4 separate regions of the Homo sapiens genome follow, and all the other regions are linked to region 1. Evidence: promoter capture Hi-C in 16 types of primary human blood cells and fetal thymus (Javierre and others, 2016). All regions are on one chromosome and are shown on one strand. Each heading gives the region's core, a stretch centred on a gene start or on the middle of the fragment in contact. The rest is flanking DNA. Distances are from core to core; before and after follow the strand shown. Region 1 holds the start of IL1B (interleukin 1 beta). Region 2 holds the start of NT5DC4 (5'-nucleotidase domain containing 4). Region 3 has its middle 19 kb from the start of IL37. Region 4 overlaps CKAP2L (cytoskeleton associated protein 2 like).

Region 1 (5,412 bases), core at 1,209-3,708:
CACTCAGCAAGTATTCAATTTTTCTACACTGTTCTTTTTTTTCCTTTTTCATAACACTGTCTCATAGGCATTCTGCAAATCCTGTGAGAGTACTTTTTGTGAAATGTTACCACTTTCCTCTTATTCAGAGAAGCTCCGTATTAAGGCTTCACTGAGGTTGCCTTAAGGCATGATAATGGTTCAAAGGCTTGAAAGACAGTTAAAGAGACCTGTAAGTGCACAAAAGAAAGTTGAGCAGGAGAGAATTTCCTGCCTGGAGCAGAGCCAAGCTGCTGGAAGAGGCAATGGGGGCAAAGGCCAGGCAGACAAGCCAATGGGCTCCTCCCACAGCTGCAGCCAACAAGTTATGCCAGTCTTAAAACTTCTAAAGAAATATGTTTTTAACAAGATTGAGGACTGGATTATGAGGCTAGGGGAGGCTATCACAAACTGGAATAAAATAAAGCCAGAGAAAAGTGGCTGCCTCCCAACCTGCACAACTGACCTAGCTAGGCTGATGGCTGGGCCACCTAGGAAGGCTACTGAGCATCATATAAAACAGAAGGGACAGCAGGAATATAACATGGCTCTTTGTAAGGATGAGTCTGAAAAATGACCATTTGCTGCCCAAATGCCCTTAGCTACAACTGAAAATATTTCAGAACTGGAGGTTGCAGGATGCTGGAATCTCAGAGATCATCCAGCTCAGCCCTTTATTTTTCAGATGAGGTCCAAAGCGGGTAAAATGACTTGTCAAGGTCAAACAGCAAGTGAATGGTTTTCTTTCAAGTCTCAATTCATCTTTTTGTTTATATCATCTATGTCTTGTTGTTATAAGCTTCACCCCAGGTAGCAAAAAACTATTCTACTCAAAAGGGGTAGACATATGTTAGTTCTCAAGATCATCTCTTGGTTTCAGAGTTTAACTCAAGTGATTGGCATAGGCTGAATCCATCTCTTAAAAGGATAATCAAATTTATGTTGAAGACTTGGTTGTCTTCCTACTATGAAATGGGAAACATTATCACTACTCCTCCCCTGTCACCACCAAGTGTGGCCACCACCACCAACGTTAGTGAGTGACTGTGGTGATATGATGACCAAGTGGCCAGGTCAGCAAGTGGTGCAGCCTGTGTCTCACTGGAAGAGGTTAAAGTCTTTCTAAAACAAAATACCATGGCATCAAAGTGGCCCAGAACTCCCTTCTTTGAGCTTTCCCTGTGTTAGAGCCCTTCCTTGGGTTGGGAGTTAAACCCATAGTCTTACCTTCATCTGTTTAGGGCCATCAGCTTCAAAGAACAAGTCATCCTCATTGCCACTGTAATAAAAACAGGGACATGTCTCAATTATGTCTTCTAAACAGGTTTATTTTTCCTTCCCTGTGTACAAGACTTGACTGTTCATAAGAAACTGCAAACAGCCTGCCTCTCAAAGCTGCCTGAAACACCTGGCAAGTTTCACAGTGATATGCGCAGAACAGTCCAGAAGGCAGATTCTAGGCCTGGCAGGTGGGCACCCTGGGTGCTCCCTGTTGGATCTTGAGGCCTAACCTCTAGCCCAGCAGAGTCAGCTAAAATCTGAGCTCTCCCTCTCCCTCCAAGCCACACTTTGCAAAGGGATTCCTTGTATTGTGGGCTTGGAGTCTTTTCTCCCCATTTGCCTCTGCAGGAAGCCCTTGCAACAACACATCTGGATAGCCTCCAGGTCCCAAGGCTGGAGGGACTTGTAATGGGAAAGTAGTCTTTAAATCAGATTTACTTGGCACCCTGTTTGCCACTGAAAGAGGCAATTTAGGGGAAAAATCTGGTCTCCAAGCACAGATAACACTCTACTCTTGAAAGAGGAGACCTGCTCATGTTACTGGTCTCAGCGTCTCCACTGACCTGTAATAAGCCATCATTTCACTGGCGAGCTCAGGTACTTCTGCCATGGCTGCTTCAGACACCTGTGTAAAAAGGAGAAAATGAGTGACTTCCCCATGACGGCTACGTTCATGTGTGATTTCTCTCAGCATCCAGTGCATGGCAGTCATGCAAAGAAATGATCTCTGAGTAAATGAATGAATGTGTGAAAGAGAAGTCCTTTGGGTCTAGAGAAAAGCATTTGCTAAACCAAACCCCAACTAGCAATGTATTGGCTAGGAGAGCTGGAGCAGAGGCTTTGACACTAACCTTTAGGGTGTCAGCTGTTAGATAAGCAGTATCCATTCCCAGAATATTTCCCGAGTCATAAGCATTATATTACACCTGGCATTTTTGCAAAAAGCTGAGAGAGGGAGGCAGAGAGGGAAGGAGAGGGAGAGACAGAGAAAGAAAGAGAGAGAGAGAGAGAATATGCATACACACAAAGAGGCAGAGAGACAGAGAGACTCCCTTAGCACCTAGTTGTAAGGAAGATTAAAGTCATACTTGAGCAATGAAGATTGGCTGAAGAGAATCCCAGAGCAGCCTGTTGTGCCTTGTGCCTCGAAGAGGTTTGGTATCTGCCAGTTTCTCCCTCGCTGTTTTTATGGCTTTCAAAAGCAGAAGTAGGAGGCTGAGAAATTTCTCTGTTGAATACCTGATTTCACAATCAAGTTAAAGGAAAGGGGAAAAGAGTATTGGTGGAAGCTTCTTAGGGGAGGGGACTAATAAACTGAGATAATTCTCTGGTTCATGGAAGGGCAAGGAGTAGCAAACTATGACACATTTTGCAAATGTATCACCATGCAAATATGCATTGTTTTCCTGACAATCGTTGTGCAGTTGATGTCCACATTAAAATACTGGATTTTCCCACGTTAGAAGAATGTTTAAATTTAGTATATGTGGGACAAAGTGGAAGACACACAGATTTATACATGCACATACTTTTCTTCATTCACTTCTTTGTACTTAAGTTTAGGAATCTTCCCACTTACAGATGGATAAATGGGTACAATGAAGGGCCAATAGCCCTCCCTGTCTGTATTGAGGGTGTGGGTCTCTACCTTGGGTGCTGTTCTCTGCCTCAGGAGCTCTCTGTCAATTGCAGGAGCCTCTGAGGAGAAAATTGACCTTTCTTGGCTGGGGCAGAGAACATACGGTATGCAGGGTTCAGGCTCCTGACGGAGTTGGGGCAACCCTGGAGATAAGCTCACACAACCCTGCAAGACCAGGTGCTGTTACCCTAGCCAATCTCATGGATGAACCAGATCAATGCCAGATGAGCTCTGCCTAAAATGATTTTTTGGTGAACTCTGAAAAGTGGAATATTGTTTCTGTAAGAATATCCATCTGAGACTCTATCTCTTGGTAATACCAACCAAGAGTTATCAGTTTCTCTTTAACCGAGACACCAGCAAAGTGCCTGCTCCAGGGTACTGCCCAGGGGAGCCCTCCATTTGTAGAATGAATGAGAGTCCAGGTTATGAACAGTGCCTGGAGTGTAGGAACACCCTCCTTTGCCTCTTTGACAGGTCTGCATCATAACACTTTTTTTTTTTTTTTGAGACAGAGTCTCACTCTGTCGCCCAGGCTGGAGTGCAGTGGCACGATCTCGGCCCCCTGCAAGTTCCGCCTCCCGGGTTCACACCATTCTCCTGCCTCAGCCTCCCCAGCAGCTGGGACTACAGGCACCTGCCGCCACGCCCGGCTAATTTTTTGTATTTTTAGTAGAGACAGGGTTTCACCATGTTAGCCAGGATGGTCTCGATCTCCTGACCTTGTGATCTGCCCGCCTCGGCCTCCCAAAGTGTTGGGATTACAGGCGTGAGCCACCGTGTCCAGCCTGTAACACTTCTTATAGCACTGAGTTGAAACCTTGCTCCTCCTGGTTCCTCCAGGAAACTGAAATCTTTTTGAGCCAAGTCTAGCACAGTGCCTGGCATGTACATTCAGGTGGTAGAGTTTGCTGCTTGAATGGGTGAATGGGAATTTGACAGCATTTTTATTCAAATTAGTATGTGCCAGGTATCGTGCTCGCTCTGCATTATCCAAGGGAGTGAGCCTCTGTGCAAGTATTTGAGACACGAGGGAAATAGGTTCTACTGTGGGAAAAAGAGCATTTCATGGACTTGCTCTCCAAGCAGCCTTCTGATTTTTAATTTGGCTCCCAGTATCTTGATATCAGGAGTCAGTCACAAGAACTCCATCTTTAGTAAGTTATATTTTCCACAGGAAATCTAAAAGCTGTTCAACATGTTAGTTTCCTGTGAATTTGATAAGCCATAATCCATTCCTAACACTGAGCCCTCCTGAAATTTGGTGTCTGGTCCTGCAGATAGCTAAAAGCCCTGTCTGGGTGGCCTAGGGGACTCCTCTGTTTTGCCTCCACAGGATCCACTTTGCAAATTAACCACTGGTTCTCCCGTTGTAGGAACTGCCACCTTCCTCAGAGCCTGTCTTTCTTCCTTCCTTCCTTCCTTCCTCTTTCTTTTTCTTTCTCTCTCTCTTTCTTTCTTTTCTTTTCTTTCTTTCTTTCTTTCTTTCTTTCTTTCTTTCTTTCTTTCTTCCTTTCTTTCTCTTTCTCTCTTTCTCTCTTTCTCTTTCTTTCTTTCTTTCTCTCTCCCTCCCTCCCTCTCTCTCTTTCTTTCTTTTTCTTTCTTTTCTCTTTTCTTTCTCTCTTTCTTTCTCCCTCCCTCTCTCTCTTTTTCTTTGTCTCTCCCTCCCTTCTCTCTCTCTTTCTCTTTCTCTCTCTCTCTCTCCTAGACAGGATCTACCTTTATCCCCCAGGCTGGAGTGCAGTGGTACAATCATGCATTCATTGCATGATCACAGCAGCCTCAAACCCTTCCTCAGAGTCTTTATGCGGCAACCAGCAGGGTCTGGAGGGTTGGTGGCTCTGTGAACTCTCCTGACAGAACACAGAGATGTCTTTGGTCTGTTGATGTGATTACAAGCTGAACGAAGGAGGATCAAAGCCAGTGACAGGAAGGGAGATATGCAAGGGACCCGAGCATCAGCTCTGAGTTAGTCCATTCTGCTTCTGGGACTTGGGATACAGGTCAGAAACCTTGAGCTTCTACTTCTCCATCTTCCAATTGTAGCATCCAGGACCTCAGAATCTGCCAGCTAAGAGGAGCCCTAATGATTGTCTGGTGGGATATGGTGGGACCACAGAGATGAAGACATGAATAGCTATTTGAATGTGAACAGCAGACGAAGAAATCAAGGCTAGGAGGGTGGAAGTGACTCATCCAATAGCACAGTGTGGTTGAAGCAGCACTAGTATCCAGGTTGCATGAGCCCCTGATGCTTTCGCTCGAGGGAAATTTTGGAGCCATGGGGCAATGCCCCCTGACGTAACAGTCTCCACAGTTCTGCCATGTCTCATCCTGGCCCTGTAACCTGGACCCAAATCTGCTACCATCCCATCCATCTCAGGAAGTGAAACCTCTTATGTCAAATAGGTTGTGCAACGTATGTATCAGATCCTGTCTTCCCAAGGAGACCGCTCAGGCCACAGCACTTCCTT
Region 2 (5,412 bases), core at 2,755-5,254, 120 kb before region 1:
CTGACTTTTTAATGATCGCCATTCTAACTGGTGTGAGATGGCATCTCATTGCGGTTTTGATTTGCATTTCTCTGATGGCCAGTGATGATGAGCATTTTTTCATGTGTTTTTTGGCTGCATAAATGTCTTCTTTTGAGAAGTGTCTGTTCATATCCTTCGCCCACTTTTTGATGGGGTTGTTTGTTTTTTTCTTGTAAATTTATTTGAGTTCATTGTAGATTCTGGATATTAGCCCTTTGTCAGATGAGTAGGTTGCAACATAGACCTTCTTTTTAAGAAATTTTGAAATTTGGAAGTAACTTCAAGTTTATGAAAAGTTTAAAGGTAAAAAATAGTACACAGACTGTCCTTACAGGCTTTACCAAGATGTACCTGTTGCTAACATTGTACTCTGTTTGCTTTGTTGTTTGTCCCCTGCTCTATATGAACACACATGGGTATGTATGTATGTATGTGTATGTATGTATATGTGTGTATGTATGCATGTATGTGTCCATCTGTCTGTATGTATGTGTATACACACAATTATTTTTCCTGAACCACTTGAAGGTAATTTACACTTATCATGAGCTTTATCCTAAATTCTTTAGTGAGTATTTCCCAGGAATAGGGATATTTTCTTACATTACCACAATATAGTCATCAAGTTCACAGGTTTACATTGAGACAGAACTTTCATCTAACCCACCACCCACACTGCAATCTTATTTGTTGACCCCATCATGTCCTTGGCACTATATGTGCCTGCAGTACAGGATTCTGCGTAGGCTTGAATATTGCGTTCATTCACCGTGGCTCTTTAGCCTCCTGTAATCTGGAACATTTCCTCCACCTTTCTTTGTCTTTAACGACATTGAAAAGTCAAGGGACTTTTGTGATGGGCCATGGGCAGAGGCGGTTTTGCCTACCGATTAAGAATACGGATGCTGGCACCCAGCTGCCTGGGCTCAGTCCCACTCTGCCATTTATCAGCCTGGTAAGTGTGGGAGAGTTGCTTAACCCTTCTGTGCCTCAGTTTGATCATTCATGAATCCAGTGAACAGTTAGCCTGTCTCGTGGGGCTGTTAGGAGGCTTGGCACACAGTAAAAATGGGCAACCATTTGCTTATTGTTATGGTGGCAAGTCTTTTCTTGAAGGGGCTCCCAGTGCATCAAGCCTCACAGGGGTGCCTTAGCATTGGCTCAGGAATCAGGACCAAGCGGGGCCTGTGGCAGCCTGCAGTCCTCCCTGACTGTACATGCGGTTAGCCTAAGGACTCTGTGGTCTGGACAAGCAGCCATATCCTAAGACGGTAGCAGAGACCATGCCAGCCAAAGACTCAACAGGGATGTGGCTACCTTAACAGACAGCAATGTGAGGACCTGGGACCCTCCAGGAAGTGAAGCCCTTCCCAATTACCAGTGTGGCTGCGGATAAGTCCCACACTGTCGAGTTGACCCCAGAAGAGGTACCTGGAGAAGGGACCCGAGAAACCACTGAAGTGATTCATCGTACCTGAACGTTGCTGGATGGCTTCACCACCCTCAGGTGCACAGAGCCTTCAAGATAGAGCCTAAGTTCAGCTATAGGAAAGGCAGGTTTTGTACAGCTGCCATGATGCCTCCCAGTGGAAGGGCTGAGCAACCCCTAGAGACTTCTCCTAACCAGGTATTACTCCTCCTTCTCTTTTCTGACCTAGAAAGGAGCCAGGCAATGTGGAAAAGGGGCTTAAAGGGCTCCCATGAGATGAGCAGAGCGCATGGAATAATGAGTGGAAGCGACTCCAGACAGCCTCCTGATTTCTGAAGCTCAGTTCTCCCCTGACACCTTCCGTGAAGGCTGCTGTATATAGCCTGCTAACCATCAGCCCGTCTATCCACGAATCTACCCATCCAACTGTCTGTCCATTCACTCATTCATGCATCCACCCATCTCTCCATCCATCCTCCATTCCTCCATCCGATGAGGAAACACATATCCTACAGCCTCCATATCCTTGCCTCACCATCTTAATACAGTCATGCGGGGCTTGACCACAGGGATCTGTTCTGAAAAACGTGTCATTAGTCGATTTCACCATTGTGTGATGTCATAGAGTGCACTTACACAAACCTAGATGGTACAGCCTACTACACACCTCGGCTGCAGGGTACAGCCTATTTCTCCTAGCCAGCATCACCACAAACATGTGAGTGATGCTTTGCATTATGATGGCGATGAGGTCACTAAGCCATAGGAGTTGTTGAGCTCCTTATCACCTTATGGGACTCAGTGGCATACGCAGTCCACTGTTGGGCGGAACATCGTTCCGCAGCACACAACTGTGCTTGCTCACCTGGCTTTGTCAAGGAAGGAGCTCTTCCATGGATATGTTTTTCTGTTGTTGTTCCAGATAACTTTTATCCTTTTAAGAGTGCCACCTTCATTTAGTTTAGTTTAGCCATTTTAGAGAGAAAGTGCTGAAACCGACTGTAAACTTGTCTGTCTTTTTTTTTTTTTTTTTTTTTTGAGACGGAGTCTTGCTGTGTTGCCCAGGCTGGAGTGCAGTGGCACGATCTTGGATGACTGCAACCTCTGCTTTCTGGGTTCAAGTGGTTCTCCCACCTCAGCCTCCTGAGTAGCTGGGATTACAGGCATGCGCAACCATGCCTGGTTAATCTTGGTATTGTTAGTAGAGATGGGGTTTCACCGTGCTGGCCAGGCTTGTCTCAAACTCCCGACCTAGTGATCTGCCCGCCTTGGCCTCCCAAAGTGCTGGGATTACAGGTGTGAGCCACTGCGCCAGGCCCTTTTCTTTCTTCCTTTCCTTTTCTTCATTTCCTTTCCTTTCCCTTCCTTCCTTCCTTCCCTCCCTCCCTCCCTCCCTCCCTCCTTTCTTTCTCTTTCTTTCTTTCCTTTCTTTCTTTCTTTTTCTTTCTTTCTTTCTTTCTCTTTCTTTCTTTCTTTCTTTCTTTCTTTCTTTCTTTCTTTCTTTCTTTCTTTCTTTCTTTCTTTTTCTTTTCTTTTCTTTTCTTTTCCCTTCCTTCCTTCCTTCCTTCCTTCTTTCTTCCTTTTTCTTTCCCTTTTTATTGACAGGATCTCACTCTGTTGCCCAGCCTGGAGTGCAGCAATCTCGGCTCATTGCAACCTCCAACCCCTGGGTTCAAGCAATTCTCCTGCCTCAGCCTCCCGAGAAGCTGCCAAGAGGCTAATTTTTTTTTTCTCCTGCCTCAGGCTCCCAAGAGGGCAATTTTTTTTTTCTTCGTATTTTTAGTAGAGACAGGGTTTCACCATCTTGGCCAGGCTGGTCTTGATCTCCTGACCACGTATCCACCCACCTTGGCCTCCCAAAGTGCTGGGATTACAGGCGTGAGCCACTGTGCCCAGCCTTGTCTTTCTTTTTAAAAGAGGGCCTGGCACTTCAGTTAAGTCTTTCTGGATGATCCAGGTCACCGCTCCAAATGGAAGTCACATGCTTGGTTGTGGAGCCAGTGGTATGGGCCCTCAGGGAGTATTTAGAACTCTACACTAAATGGCCCCAGTGGTTCTGCTTTTTGACACTTCCTTTTGTACTTTCTGCCACCCCCCCATTCTGAGATCCCAGTTATCTTCCCAATTCTTATAGCCCTTGGCATGCTTCTAGCAATGTCTTCTCTAAATGGCCTTGAGCTGGGAAATTTGATAACCAAATGTGTCAGAATTGTGCATAAAGCAAGAGTACTGAGTTATTTCTTTTATCATGAGTACAGTACGGAGCCTCCTGACTTTGTATCCCGTCATTTGCCTCATTCTGGGTTCTCCGCTACTCTCCAGGCCGCTGAGGTCCATGGATGCATAAGCCCTAGGAATGAGGAGGGTGCAGTGGACATGAATTGCTCTTCCTAGATCCTTGCTGCTTTTGCTCTAGAGAAAAGGATGGGATACCAGAGCCTGTCCTGGCTGACTCCTCCCTCAAAGGGGCTCGGGGGAGATGGGAGCACAGGGTGGGGCCAGCTGGGTCAGTGGTGCCTGAAGCTTCTGAGGGAGAGGAGAGTGGCTGGGCCCCACTGATAGTGTGCAGGAGGCTGAGGAAGGGACACTTGCCTCCTCCTCACTCTGGGTGACGATGGCCAGTGTAGACTGGAGAGAGCCGGAGGGACTGGTCTCCCCTCAAGGCCCGAAGCAGGACTGGCACCAGCGGTGAGATGGGCACCTGGGGTGGGGGCCAGGGGTCTCAGCCCATAAACACCCCACACGCCACAGCAGCACACAGGGGCTCCTTTAAATACACAGCTATGGGGACTCCCAAAATGCAGACGTACACTTGCACTCACAAGGGACGCACTTCCATAGCTGTAACAACCCATCAGGGAACTGACCACACACACTCCGGCGGGAGGTCCTCTTCACTTCCTTCCCTCCACGAAGATCTCTCCCCTTCACCACGGACACAGTGACATGTGCTATCCAATTGTGACAAACACATCATCTCTGAATTTGGACACTGGGGTCCCATTTCAGAAGGTGACAACCCTCACACCAACAACTGCACCTACTTTCTTACAGGGTTGGATGCCTATAACATGCCTGCATGGTGGGACAGCAAGCGGCTGATTGCCCGCACACACTCAGATGCACGCTTGCACACATGCTCACACATGCTTACATGCACACTCACACTTGCCTTCAGACACACATGGGTCCAGGCAGGGCCCTGGCTTGGCCTGACCTGCTTCCCCTGTGCTTTCTGCAGCTGCAGGGGGTGCTCTGCCCTCCTCTGCGGGGTTTCCACCCCCTCTGTCCTTGGGCCTTGGATTCTGGGGGGCTGGTGGACTGATGCCAACATCCTCCTCTCTCTCCCCAGGATTTTTGTCAACCGCAGCCTGGCGCTGGGGAAGATTCGTTGCTTTGGCTTCGACATGGACTACACTCTGGCTGGTAGAGAGGGCTGGAACACAGCGTATTGGGAGCTGGAGGGAGCAGGGGTGGGCAGCTGGGCACCAAAGCCCTGATTCTGTCCGGGCCTCTGCAGCCTACAAGTCCCCAGCTTATGAGGCCCTGACCTTCGAGCTGCTGCTGGAGCGCCTGGTGTGCATTGGGTACCCGCATGAGATCCTGCGCTACACCTACGACCCCACCTTCCCCACCAGGTGTGTGGCTCAGGACAGGTGGGAGGCCACCCGGCCTTGGTACCCCCACCCACAGTGCCCCCCGACCCCCCGTCTGCAGGCGGCTGGTGTTCGATGAACTCTATGGGAACCTGCTGAAGGTGGACGCCCACGGGAATGTGCTGCTGGGTGCCTATGGCTTCACCTTCCTCTCGGAGTAAGGGACAAAGGTGCCGGGAGAGTGGCAGGCCAGGAGGGGAGGACTGCTCACCTTGGGGGAGGACAGAGGGAGGGAGGGAGGAAGGACGCAGGCCCACGGTGGAGGCTCAGCACAGAAGGGATGCGTGGTGGTTGGAAGGGATGGCC
Region 3 (5,412 bases), core at 939-3,438, 93 kb after region 1:
TAAACAAATATATAATTATAGATCTCTGGATCTTGCCTTCGGAGACTGACTCAACTAACTGGTCTGGGTGGGAGCCCAGCCATTTGTATTTTTTGAAAACTCTCCAAATGATTTTACTGTGCAGCCAAGGTTGAGAATCACTGTATCATAGGGTTGGACTCCTAACTGGAAACAGTTTGCACCATCAGGTGTCGCAGCATTCTGATAATAGTTAAGCTTTCCTCCTAGATTTTCTGATATTAGATGAGTCATGTTTACAAGTTTTTACCAAGAGACAAACTATCTTTCTGCCCTTACTTTCTCTCTTATACTATTCTAATCCCAGAACCCTTTGGAACTTCCACTGAGAGATGAATCTAGAAAGTGACTCTCTTGGCTACAACAGAGAGTAATGTTGGCCTGTTTGTGCCAGATCCAGTTGGTGCTGGTGGTGGGACAGCACCTCCCTGAAATCCCCTCCTCTCCCGTCAGATTCAGTCCCCCATTTGCATCACGTACAATCATCACTATGGGTTTCTATTACCTTGCTAGGGCATTTGGAGGTACCATATATACCAACTATTAGTTTTGAGCCATGGTTCCCAAAGTGTGGACTGTAGGGCACCTCAGCACACTCACGAGGTGTCATGGGATATTTAAATATTCTGAAGAAAACACAGTGACATCTGTCAGGCCCGTGAAAACCGTTGGCATTAAATTGTCTCAACCCAATTGCTTAAGAAGCAGAACTGGCCAGGCACGGTGGCTCACATCTGTAATCCCAGCACTTTGGGAGGCCGAGGCGGGCAGATCACGAGGTCAGGAGTTCGAGACCAGCCTGACCAACATAGTGAAACCCCGTCTCTACTAAAAATATAAAAATTAGCCATGCATGGTGGCATGCACCTGTAACCCCAGCTACTCAGGAGGCTGAGGCAGGAGAATTGCTTGAACCTGGGAAGCGGAGGTTGTAGTGAGCCAAAATCGTGCCACTGCACTCCAGCTTGGGTGATAGTGAGACTACATCTCAAAAAAAAAAAAATGAGAGAGAGAGAGAGAAGCAGAACCATCAGGTGTTTCTTTTGGCTTAAAGTACTCGGTGAAGAAATTCCTGGGACACGAAGGATACCATGAACTGAGAGATTTTGGGAACCTCTGCTTTAGAAGCTGGAGGTAGCATTCCTTGGGCACAGTACTGCCTTGGGATCAGCAAATCCTTTTGATGGTGCATTTAGGTGTGGCAAGACAGCTCTTAGAGTGGGACCGGGATGTGCTTGGAGACAGAGGGAACTAGATTGAGCTGCCCGATAAAGACATGCCAGCCTGGCAGAGTGTAGTGACTCATGTCTGTAATCCTAGTGCTTTGGGAGGCTGAAGTGGGAGGATTGCTTGAGGCCAGGGGTTTGAGATCAGCCTGGGAAACAACAAGACCTCTACAAAAAAAAAAAGAAAAAAAAAAATTAACCACATGTGGTGGCATGCACCTGTAGTCCCAGCTACCTGGCAGGCTGAGGTAGGAGGATCACTTGAGCCCAGGAAGGTAAGGATACATTGAGCCATGACTGTGCCACTGCACTCTAGCCTGGGTGACAGAAAGAGACTCTGTCTCAGAAATAAATTAAATAACTAAATAAATATATAGTGGCCATGACATCCCTAGAAAGACAAGGTCCTGGGAATAGGTAGAAGCCAAGGGAAATGAGAAATGAGAGGGGGCCCTGGAGCTGGAACTGGGGGAGCAGGATGGCCTCTGAGAAGTTCCTGATAGTGGTGTCACTGATGTGTCTGATGTTTAGTTGTAATTATTTGCTGGGCCCCTGTCATCCCTCATATCTGATAGCTCTTTGCTAGTCAAAGTGTGGTCTGGGGATCAGCGGCATCAGCATCACTTGAGAACTTGTTAGAGATGCAGAATCTAGAGCCCTACCCGGGACCCAGAAACAGAGCCTGCATTTTAACAAGCTCCCCAGGTGATTCTCACACACACTCGCATTTGAGAAGCACTGGGCTAGTTGACAGATTCTCAGGCATGGCTGACATTGAAATATCCAGGGAGCAGGCTTGGCATTAGGATGTTTAAAAGTCCTCCAGGTGTTTCTAAAGCCAGGTTTGAGGAATTACTGGGCTGATACAAATGTTTTGTGATGATGCTTTGTGTGTGTGTGTGTGTGTGTGTGTGTGTGTGTGTGTTGGGAGTTCTGGGTCAGTTGGCACCAACACAGGAAACAATTGAAATATGTGAGCCATGACAGAAAGGTCAGGAGATAAAAGAAATTAGTGACATGAGAGGTACTCCTCAGGTGTTAGGAAATAGGGTAGAGCAAACCAGGTTTTCCACCATATGTTGGATAGGGGTTCAAGTAAATTTCTACTTAAAAATTACAAACAGGGGCTGGGCGCGGTGGCTCATGCCTGTAATCCCACACTTTGGGAGGCTGAGGAGGGCGGATCACAAGGTCAAGAGATTGAGACCATCCTGGCCAACACGGTGAAACCGTGTCTCCACTAAAAATACAAAAATTAGCTGGGCATGGTGGTGCGTGCCTTTATTCCCAGCTACTCGGGAGGCTGAGGCAGGAGAATCGCTTGAACCTGGGAGGTGGAGGTTGCAGTGGGCCGAGATCGCACCACTGCAATCCAGAGCGAGACTGTGTCAAAAAAAAAAAAAAAAGAAAATTCCAAACAGGATGACCCTAAGCCTGCAGGACTTGGAGACATCTAGGTGACTGATACTCAGTCACAAAACATAATTGGTCACAGGCCTGATGAAATGCACAGCAGACCTTCAGATGGTATGCACTCAAGTGATATCCACAAGTCCACCTAAAGAAATGCTATATTCAAACATTTGGCATCAATCTCTATCAAACAAAGATAGTCCAAAGCAATGGGTTCCAAAAACACTTTCCTAAGACAAATTCTCTATTTGCTTTTAATATCAGTCATCCCAGCCCTTGGAATAGAGGAGCAAATGATACCAGTGGTACCCTACCACAATGCACCAAGGTATTATACTCTCATGCTCCATTTTCTCCCTCTGTCTACATCACTAATAACTCATTGATTTCTGGTGCAAGCCCTCCTGGGAGAAAAAGTCTACTCTTGTACCTTGGAGCAAGTTGTTCAGAGTAGGTATCGAGGATAAAATTTGGAAAGTTAGAAAAGCTATTAGAAGGAGATCCTAGTAGTTGAAAACACAGCCTGGCCAAGTCAATGATGCTATTTCATCTCCCCAGCCTTGCATGTCCATAGCTAAGGAAGACAATTTAGGCTTGGGCTAGAGGATGGGAAAGGGCAAAATTACTGATGCCACAGCCCAGAGAGGTATTCTAGTAATCTGAGGGTGAGGACCACATACCTGGTTCAGGGACGTACAGTGTTGACAGCTGTGAGTGGATGCCTGGAGTTCTGGCATGTCTTCTAGCACAATGATACCTGAGACTCTTGCATCATTGGGAATAATAAAATGGGAGTGGATAGATATGAAATTATGATGGCAATAAGCAATCAGCTAATAGCTTCATTGATGGGACAGATTAAAGATGGCTGCAGATCCTTTGGTCCAGGGTTGGGATACAGGCAGCATTTGTATTGGAATGCTGATAGTCTGAGGCCATGAAAAGTCCACCTGCAGTAGTGGTAGGAGGAACAAGCCTCACTTTCTTCAATGTGTGTGACTGCTGTCTTGATTCCCTGGGTGGCCAGTTCCATTCGTGTGGTTCTTTGGTCCACTTGACTCTGGGGTGGCTCTGTGATGGCTTGACCAATAGAATGTAGTGGAAATGATGCTGTAATCATTTCCAGCCTCTTCCAGCCTTAAGGAACTGGCAACTTTTATTTCTGTCCCTTGGAATACTTGTTCTTGCAACCCATCCATCATACAGTGAGAAATTCTAAGCTGCCCCCTTAAGAGGCCCACATGGTGATAAATTGGGGTCTTACATACAGCCCTAGCTGTGCTCCTAGCTGACAAACAGTAGCAACTTGTCACCAGGCGAGTGAACCACTTAGTACTGTATACTCCAGCCCCAGTTGAGCAATGTGGAACAGAGTAAACCATCTCAGCTTAGCCCTGCCCAAACTGCAGAATTATGAGCAAAATAATCCACTAGGCTTTGGGCTGATTTGTTCCAGATTACTGGAACAGAATTTGGTACCAGGGGTGAGGTGCTACAGCAATGAAAGCTTAAGACACGTGACTTTGGTTTTGGGTCTGAGTGGCAGGGGAGCTTGGCAGGCCTCAAGGAAACTTTTAGGGAGGGTTGAAGCATAGTGAGGAAAACAGTAGGGGAAGCTAGAGGAAAAAATGATGCTTGGTATGTAGTGGTGGGAAGTTTAGCAAAACTCGCCTGATGTAATGTGGGAAATTGTAAGAACTCAGAACGATTTAAGGGCATGTTTTATAGGTCCTTTAAGAAACTTCTAGCCCGGGCGCAGTGGCTCACGTCTGTAATCCCAGCACTTTGGGAGGCTGAGGTGGGCGGATCACAAGGTCAGGAGATCGAGACAATCCTGGCTAACATTGTGAAACCCCGTCTCTACTAAAACTACAAAAAAAAATTAGCCGGGCATGGTGGCGGGTGCCTGTAGTCCCAGCTACTAGGGAGGCTGAGGCAGAAGAATGGCGTGAACCCGGGATGTGGATCTTGAAGTGAGCCCAGATTGTGCCACTGCACTCCAGCCTGGGCAACAGAGTGAGACTCCGTCTCAAAAAAAAAAAAAAAAAAAAAAAAAAAAAGAAACTTCTAGGGCTGGTCCCATGGAAGCCTCACACATGGTACACAAAGGCTGTCTTGAAAAGAAACGTAAGTGTGTTTTTTGGTTTAATAAAATTGATTATAAATGGATAATGCAAAACATTTTAAAGAATTTTACTAGCTTACATTAGCAGATTTGGATCCAGTGATTGTTACATTCTGGTACTGAGCCCCTGAATTACTTCTTTGAGTAAGGCATTATACCAAAGCTATTGATAGTTGGGCTTATAGGGTGTATGTTTGAAGAACTACTAATGTCAAAACCAATATTTCACGGTCGACAAGAGGACATCAGAACTGGTAATCCTTATTACCATGACTGGCTGGACAGAATACTCAATGTAATGGGATTTCCTGCAAATAAAGACGGGGAAGATATAAAAAAGATGCCTGAACATTCAACATTAATGAAAGATTTCAGAAGAAATATGTATACTAACTGCAGCCTTATCAAGTATATGGAAAAACACAAAGTTAAACCAGATAGTAAAGCATTCCACTTGCTTCAGAAGTTTCTTACTATGGACCCAATAAAGTGAATTACCTGAGAACGGGGTCCCTGTTTCTTCGAAGACCCACTTCCTACGTCAGACGTTTTCACCAGTTGTCAAATCCCCTACCCAAAATGAGAATTTTTAACAGAAGAAGAACCTGATGACAAAGGAGCCAAAAAGAA
Region 4 (5,412 bases), core at 2,173-4,672, 75 kb before region 1:
TATTTGTAAAATCAGCCAGGACAGGGTTTTAAGGTTAGAGTCTATGTTAATAATAAACAAATGTTTAGTCATGTGATTTAAGTTTGGATAAGAAAGGTAGGACTCGATTACAGAGAATTTTGAAAACTAGGGAAGGGAGTTTAGAATTCATATGGTAAGTAATTGGGCAAGCCACTATGAATTCCTGAGCATCTCTCATGAAAGCAATTACTCAGAAAGGAGAATTTCACAGAGATTTATGGAATATGTTTCCAGGGTAAGATATGGGAATGCTAGAGTTACCACTCTATTTTTGATTTGACAAATATTGTGAAGAATCACTACATAAACTTGGCGAGTATGTAAAGGATTTCTAACCAGAACCATTTGGCATTGAGGGCAAAGAGATGTCTACTCTGGATGATAGCGGTGTGTGTGGTGTTACTAGGAGTGAAACAGCGGAGTTGGGAGTGGGAGGCAGAGAGATGGATGGTATACCCACAATGGCTATATCTGGATTAATCTTTGAGCACCAACATTTATATACACCTCGGATCTCTCCATCATTGCTTACTGAAGAGGTGGAGGGACGTTGGCATGAAAGCTTCCAAATGTGTTTTTTTAGTTGCTTTCTTATATATTAAAAACAAATTGATATAATCCACAAACCATAAAATTCACCATTTTAGTAAGTGCACACTTCTGTGGATTTTAGTATAGCCACACTATTATACAGCAATCACCACTGTCTAATTCCAGAACATATTCATCACCCTAGAAAGAAACTTGGTTTACTTGTTGGCAGTCACTCCCCATTTTCTGCTCCCTGCAGTTCTTGGCAACCGCTAGTCTACTTTCTGTCTCTGTATGTCTATAGATGTGCCTATTTTAGATGTGTCATATAAATGGAATCATGTAATATGTGGCCTTTTCTGTCTGGCTTCTTTCACTTAGCATAACGTTTTCAAGATTTACCCATGTTGTAGCATGTATCAGTACTTCATTACTTTTTAAAATTAACTTTTTTAGAGCAGGTTTAGATTCACAGCAAAATTAATAATAGTAAAAGTATCTATTATCTAGGAAGGATGCCATATATCCCGGTTTTCACAAGATAGTTTTGATTTATGCCTGTTGGTCAAAGAGTACTGCTTTTTACTCTCAAAGTGTCCTGGTTTGGACATTAAAGCATATGGCCAACTTCCTCACATGGTTGTTCTGAGTGAGGTAATGTATATAAACATGTCTGGGTGTTAGTTATTGTTGTCATGTATCGAAAGTGTTATATAAATTGTCAAGCATTATATAACTGTAATGATGACTATTATTTACATCGTGCTTTTAGTTTCTCCTAAATTCTGTAATTCCCTTCCTGAGTTCACTTTTTACTTTTACAACTGTGTAAAGCAGATAAGGTAGGTATCATCCTCATTTACGAGCTGATGTACTGAAGTCAGTATTGTCAACTTCCAGAGAAGCCTCTGGGAAGTCTGAATGAGGGCCCTTTCCAGTAGATTTTTCCTTAAGACTTGCATACTATACTGGTTCAATCTGCATAAAGTAAAAGTGTAACCCAGTGCTTCCCAAACGTTAAACCATTGTTCATAAATTTTGCCTTATATACATTTTGCTATCCTTCACAGTGTCTAATGATGTCATGTATACATACAACATATATATGTCTACATATGCATATGCATATGACTGAAATATGACTGAAGTGATTTGGTGAATCATTAAAACTTATTAAAATTCTCACCAGTGAGAATTTTTCACTTCAGGAAGCACTATTTTAGTTACATTTCAGAACACAGATAAAAACTTATATGTCTATATATGCATATGCATATGACTGAAATATGACTGAAGTGATTTGGTGAATCATTAAAACTTATTAAAATTCTCACCAGTGAGAATTTTTCACTTCAGGAAGCACTGTTTTAGTTACATTTCAGAACACAGATAAAAACTATGTTTTAAAAAACTAAAGGTGAGATTTTTATTGCAGATGAATAATCTGTGCCTCTTTCAGAGGGCTAATTTCTTCCATTTAAACTTTAAGTTAAGGATCCTTTACCATTCTATCTAATGTAGCTAAATTAAATTGATTAGGAAGCATATACTTGTTAAGTGGCTTGGAAGGTTCAATGCAAATGTTCTCTTTTAATGACTACTGAGCTATTTAACTTCATGGCAGCATACCAAAGTGGTTAAGATCACAGGCTCTCAGCTTTGTCACTTAATAGCTATACGACCTATTTAACCTTTCTGTGACTTAGTTTGCTTATCTGTAAAGTGGGGCTACTAATAGTAGCCTCATAAGATTGTGAGGACTCAGTGAGGTAATGCAAGTCAGAAAAGTATCAGGCACACAGTAAGCATTCAATAAATGTTAGCTATCAAGAGGACTAAAGTTCACTTGAGGCTTTTCTTGGTTAATAAAACTAAACTACTTTTCAAAAAATGTCATACTTTTCAAAAAATGATTGTCTCTTATTAAACCAAACTGTTTTTATATCTGTAAGAAATACCTTTCAAATACATGTTCTTTAGGTTGCTAACATCTTTATTATTTTTATTACTAATCATACTTATGAATGCATATTTTTAAAAAGACTAATTTCTACTTACAGATTTAGAAGGTGGTTGATTCTGGCAATTATTCTTGGATTTTAGATAAGGCCTATAAAAGACAAATTAAAATTAATCCTCAGCACAGAAGGATTCTAAGCTAAGCTTGGGAAGTACAGTGATTAAAAATTATGAATAGAATTTTAAATAATTAGAATTTCTGTAATGGCAAAATAATTCAAAATTATATTTAATAAAGTCTCCTTATCATCATTTCTTTAGTTCTGTATCCTCCCCCTTGGAGACCACCAACTGCTCCTACTCTTTTTTTTTTTGCCTTGTGATCCTTACAGAGACTGTCTATACATAAATCTAGCATTCTCACAATATTAATGAGATATATGTGTTTCCTTCATATTTATATAGTCTTACTCATTCACACATCATTCCTGGAGCACTGCAATGTGCCAGACACCGAAGACACAATGCCAAATAAAACCATTAACTGCTTCTTTAAAAAATTTCCGGCTGGGCGTAGTGGCTCACGCCTGTAATCCCAGCACTTTGGGAGGCCAAGGCAGGCGGATCATGAGATCAGGAAATAGAGACCATCCTGGCTAACACAGTGAAACCCCATCGCTACTAAAAATACAAAAAAATTAGCTGGGCATGGTGGCACATGCCTGTTGTCCCAGCTACTCGGGAGGCTGAGGCAGGAAAATGGCGTGAAACTGGGAGGCAGAGCTTGCAGTGAGCCAAGATTGCGCCACTGCACTCCAGCCTGGGCAACAGAGTGAGACTCCGTCTCAAAAAAAAAAAAAAAAAAAAAAAAAATTTCCTTGTTTTCAGTATCTTCAAATACTATCTCTTCTAACTTTAAGGGGGTAAAGAAATATTAAAAAAAAAAAAACCAAGACACACATGAAATATAGCTAGTGAGACAGGAAATGCAGAAAAAGGATTGGAAAACAGAGGTGAATTTAGAAGGAATCAATCTGCATGGACCAAAAACAATTGCTAGACTAACAAGGACTTTGATTATGACTTGTTTGATGTTTGTCTCTCCCATCTACAGCATAAGCCCTGGGAGGGCAGGAATGTCTGTCTTGTTAAGCGCCATTATCTCTAGCATCAGAAGTGACTGAGATGTTATAGGTACTAAATAAATATTTGTTGAATAAGTGAATTAGGTTCATTTAATCAAGGAAATAGAGGTGAGTAAACACCCAAGATAAAATAAAGGGTGAAAGCTAACTTTGTAAAAATTAATTTTCAAATAAATACTTAGCAACTCAAATGGGGAAAAAATTAATTAATGCTAAGAAAGGACAAATAACACGACAAAGATGGTAAGAATCTACAAAGGATAAAAATGAAGTGGACATGTTCTGTCTACCTTAACAGTAAATGCTAAGAGAATGACCCAAGAGCAGAGGGTATCACTCTGCTACGGAGGATTGATTGTAACTGGCTCTCCTGCCTTAGCAAGAAATGCCAGAACCATGGTCATTCAAGTTCTTGACCAAAAACTGCCTTCATGAGAATCAACTTCCCCAAGAAAAAAAAAGCAGAAACAGGCAAAGCTTCCAGCATGGTAGGTAATACTGACCCTTCTTCCCTCCTTCCTTTGGAGATTCACACAGTAATAATGCATAAAGCTTTGCCAATGGACTAAGCACTGCCCAGGGGTTTTTGTCATGCCTGGACTGAAATGCTCTTTTTGCGTTATCATAGAATCCCAGTGCAGTCTGAGTAGACTCTAAGCAAAAGGGACATTTTTCAAAAAGGCTTTAAATTGCTAGTACAAAGAAGGCAACAAAACTTGCGTAACTGTGGACAGATAAACTCACTTGGTGTTTTGGCTCTTCAGTTTTCCCTTGGCTGCAAGGTACTCCTGAAGCTTTCTCTGCCGCTCTTCTGCAACACAGGCAAGCAAACAAACGACATAACTTTAGTTCAAGATTTTAACCAGTTCATTAATATTCTAAAAGATGACACTTTTCTCTAGTGATTTTGCCTTTGCAACATAATGTTATAAAATCCCTAGTCCTATAAATGTGCCTTCAAGCTAACATCAACATCAACAATATCATTTATATGCCAGGCCTACACTAAGTTCTTTAAACTTACTACTTTTTTTTTTTTTTTTGAGACAGGGTCTTCCTCTGTCACTGAGGTTGGAGGGCAGTGGCACAACCACGGCTCACTGTTGACTTGATCTCCCAGGTTCTAGCAATCCTCACACCTCAGTCTCCTGAGTAGCTGGGAATACAGGCGTGTACCACCATGCTGGATAATTTTAAAAAAATTTTTTGTAGAGACAGGATCTCACTATGTTGCCAGGGGTGGTCTCAAATTCCTGAGCTCAAGTGACCCTCCTGCTTTGGCCTCCCAAAGTGCTAGGATTACAGGCGTAAGTCAAAGCACTCGGCCTAAATTTACATTATTGCTTTCAATCCACAAAACAATCCAATGAGTTTTTGCAATCTGAAATTCAGAGAGAGTAAATGTCATGCCCAAAGTTACCCAGCTAATATGTGGCAATTCCAGGACTTGAAAACAGGCTTTTCTAACCCTGGAGCTCACAGCCACTGTTCTCAGCTACAACAGTCTGTTTTGAAGAATTTCTGTTACTGGCCCACCTGAGCTGGTGAGCCAGGCCTGGTCTTACGTCTTTTGTTTTTTTACAGGGATGATGATTTTTACCCACAAACCCTTATATGGCTTCCTTTGTTGGTACTAAGGATAAAATACGCCCGGTCTGCTCACGGCAGACACCTATACTATGGTGACTTTCTACGCAAGCCATTTGTGAGGGGATGACAAGTCAATAATTTCTGCCTTCAAGAACTTTCAAACTAG

Evidence for each region. Contacts are between HindIII fragments. The CHiCAGO score rates a contact against its expected background, and 5 or more counts as called.
Region 2: the fragment with the promoter of NT5DC4 here is called in contact with the fragment with the promoter of IL1B in region 1 in 4 of 17 cell types (neutrophils, monocytes, naive B cells and 1 more); the score reaches 9.0 in neutrophils.
Region 3: a contact is called between a fragment that was not itself captured here and the fragment with the promoter of IL1B in region 1, in 7 of 17 cell types (megakaryocytes, M1 macrophages, endothelial precursors and 4 more). The highest score is 13.1, in megakaryocytes.
Region 4: a contact is called between a fragment that was not itself captured here and the fragment with the promoter of IL1B in region 1, in 8 of 17 cell types (megakaryocytes, monocytes, M2 macrophages and 5 more). The highest score is 24.1, in megakaryocytes.

Annotation. Positions count from the first base shown.
Region 1 is chr2:112,834,321-112,839,732 of GRCh38, forward strand. IL1B (interleukin 1 beta) reads right to left here and starts at 2,459. Exons shown (of 7, transcript NM_000576.3): 1 at 2,388-2,459; 2 at 1,863-1,924; 3 at 1,246-1,297. The coding sequence starts at 1,909. The HindIII fragment of the contact is 1,771 bases long and covers 816-2,586 here.
Region 2 is chr2:112,717,016-112,722,427 of GRCh38, forward strand. NT5DC4 (5'-nucleotidase domain containing 4) reads left to right here and starts at 4,005. Exons shown (of 17, transcript NM_001393655.1): 1 at 4,005-4,138; 2 at 4,803-4,876; 3 at 4,971-5,088; 4 at 5,168-5,263. The coding sequence starts at 4,065. The HindIII fragment of the contact is 3,072 bases long and covers 3,972-5,412 here.
Region 3 is chr2:112,927,762-112,933,173 of GRCh38, forward strand. It overlaps the pseudogene CDK8P2. Among named protein-coding and RNA genes, the nearest start is that of IL37, 19 kb to the left of the region's middle. The HindIII fragment of the contact is 3,948 bases long and covers 215-4,162 here.
Region 4 is chr2:112,758,103-112,763,514 of GRCh38, forward strand. It overlaps CKAP2L (cytoskeleton associated protein 2 like), which reads right to left. Exons shown (of 9, transcript NM_152515.5): 2 at 4,401-4,467; 3 at 2,611-2,662. Among named protein-coding and RNA genes, the nearest start is that of CKAP2L, 3.8 kb to the right of the region's middle. The HindIII fragment of the contact is 1,418 bases long and covers 2,714-4,131 here.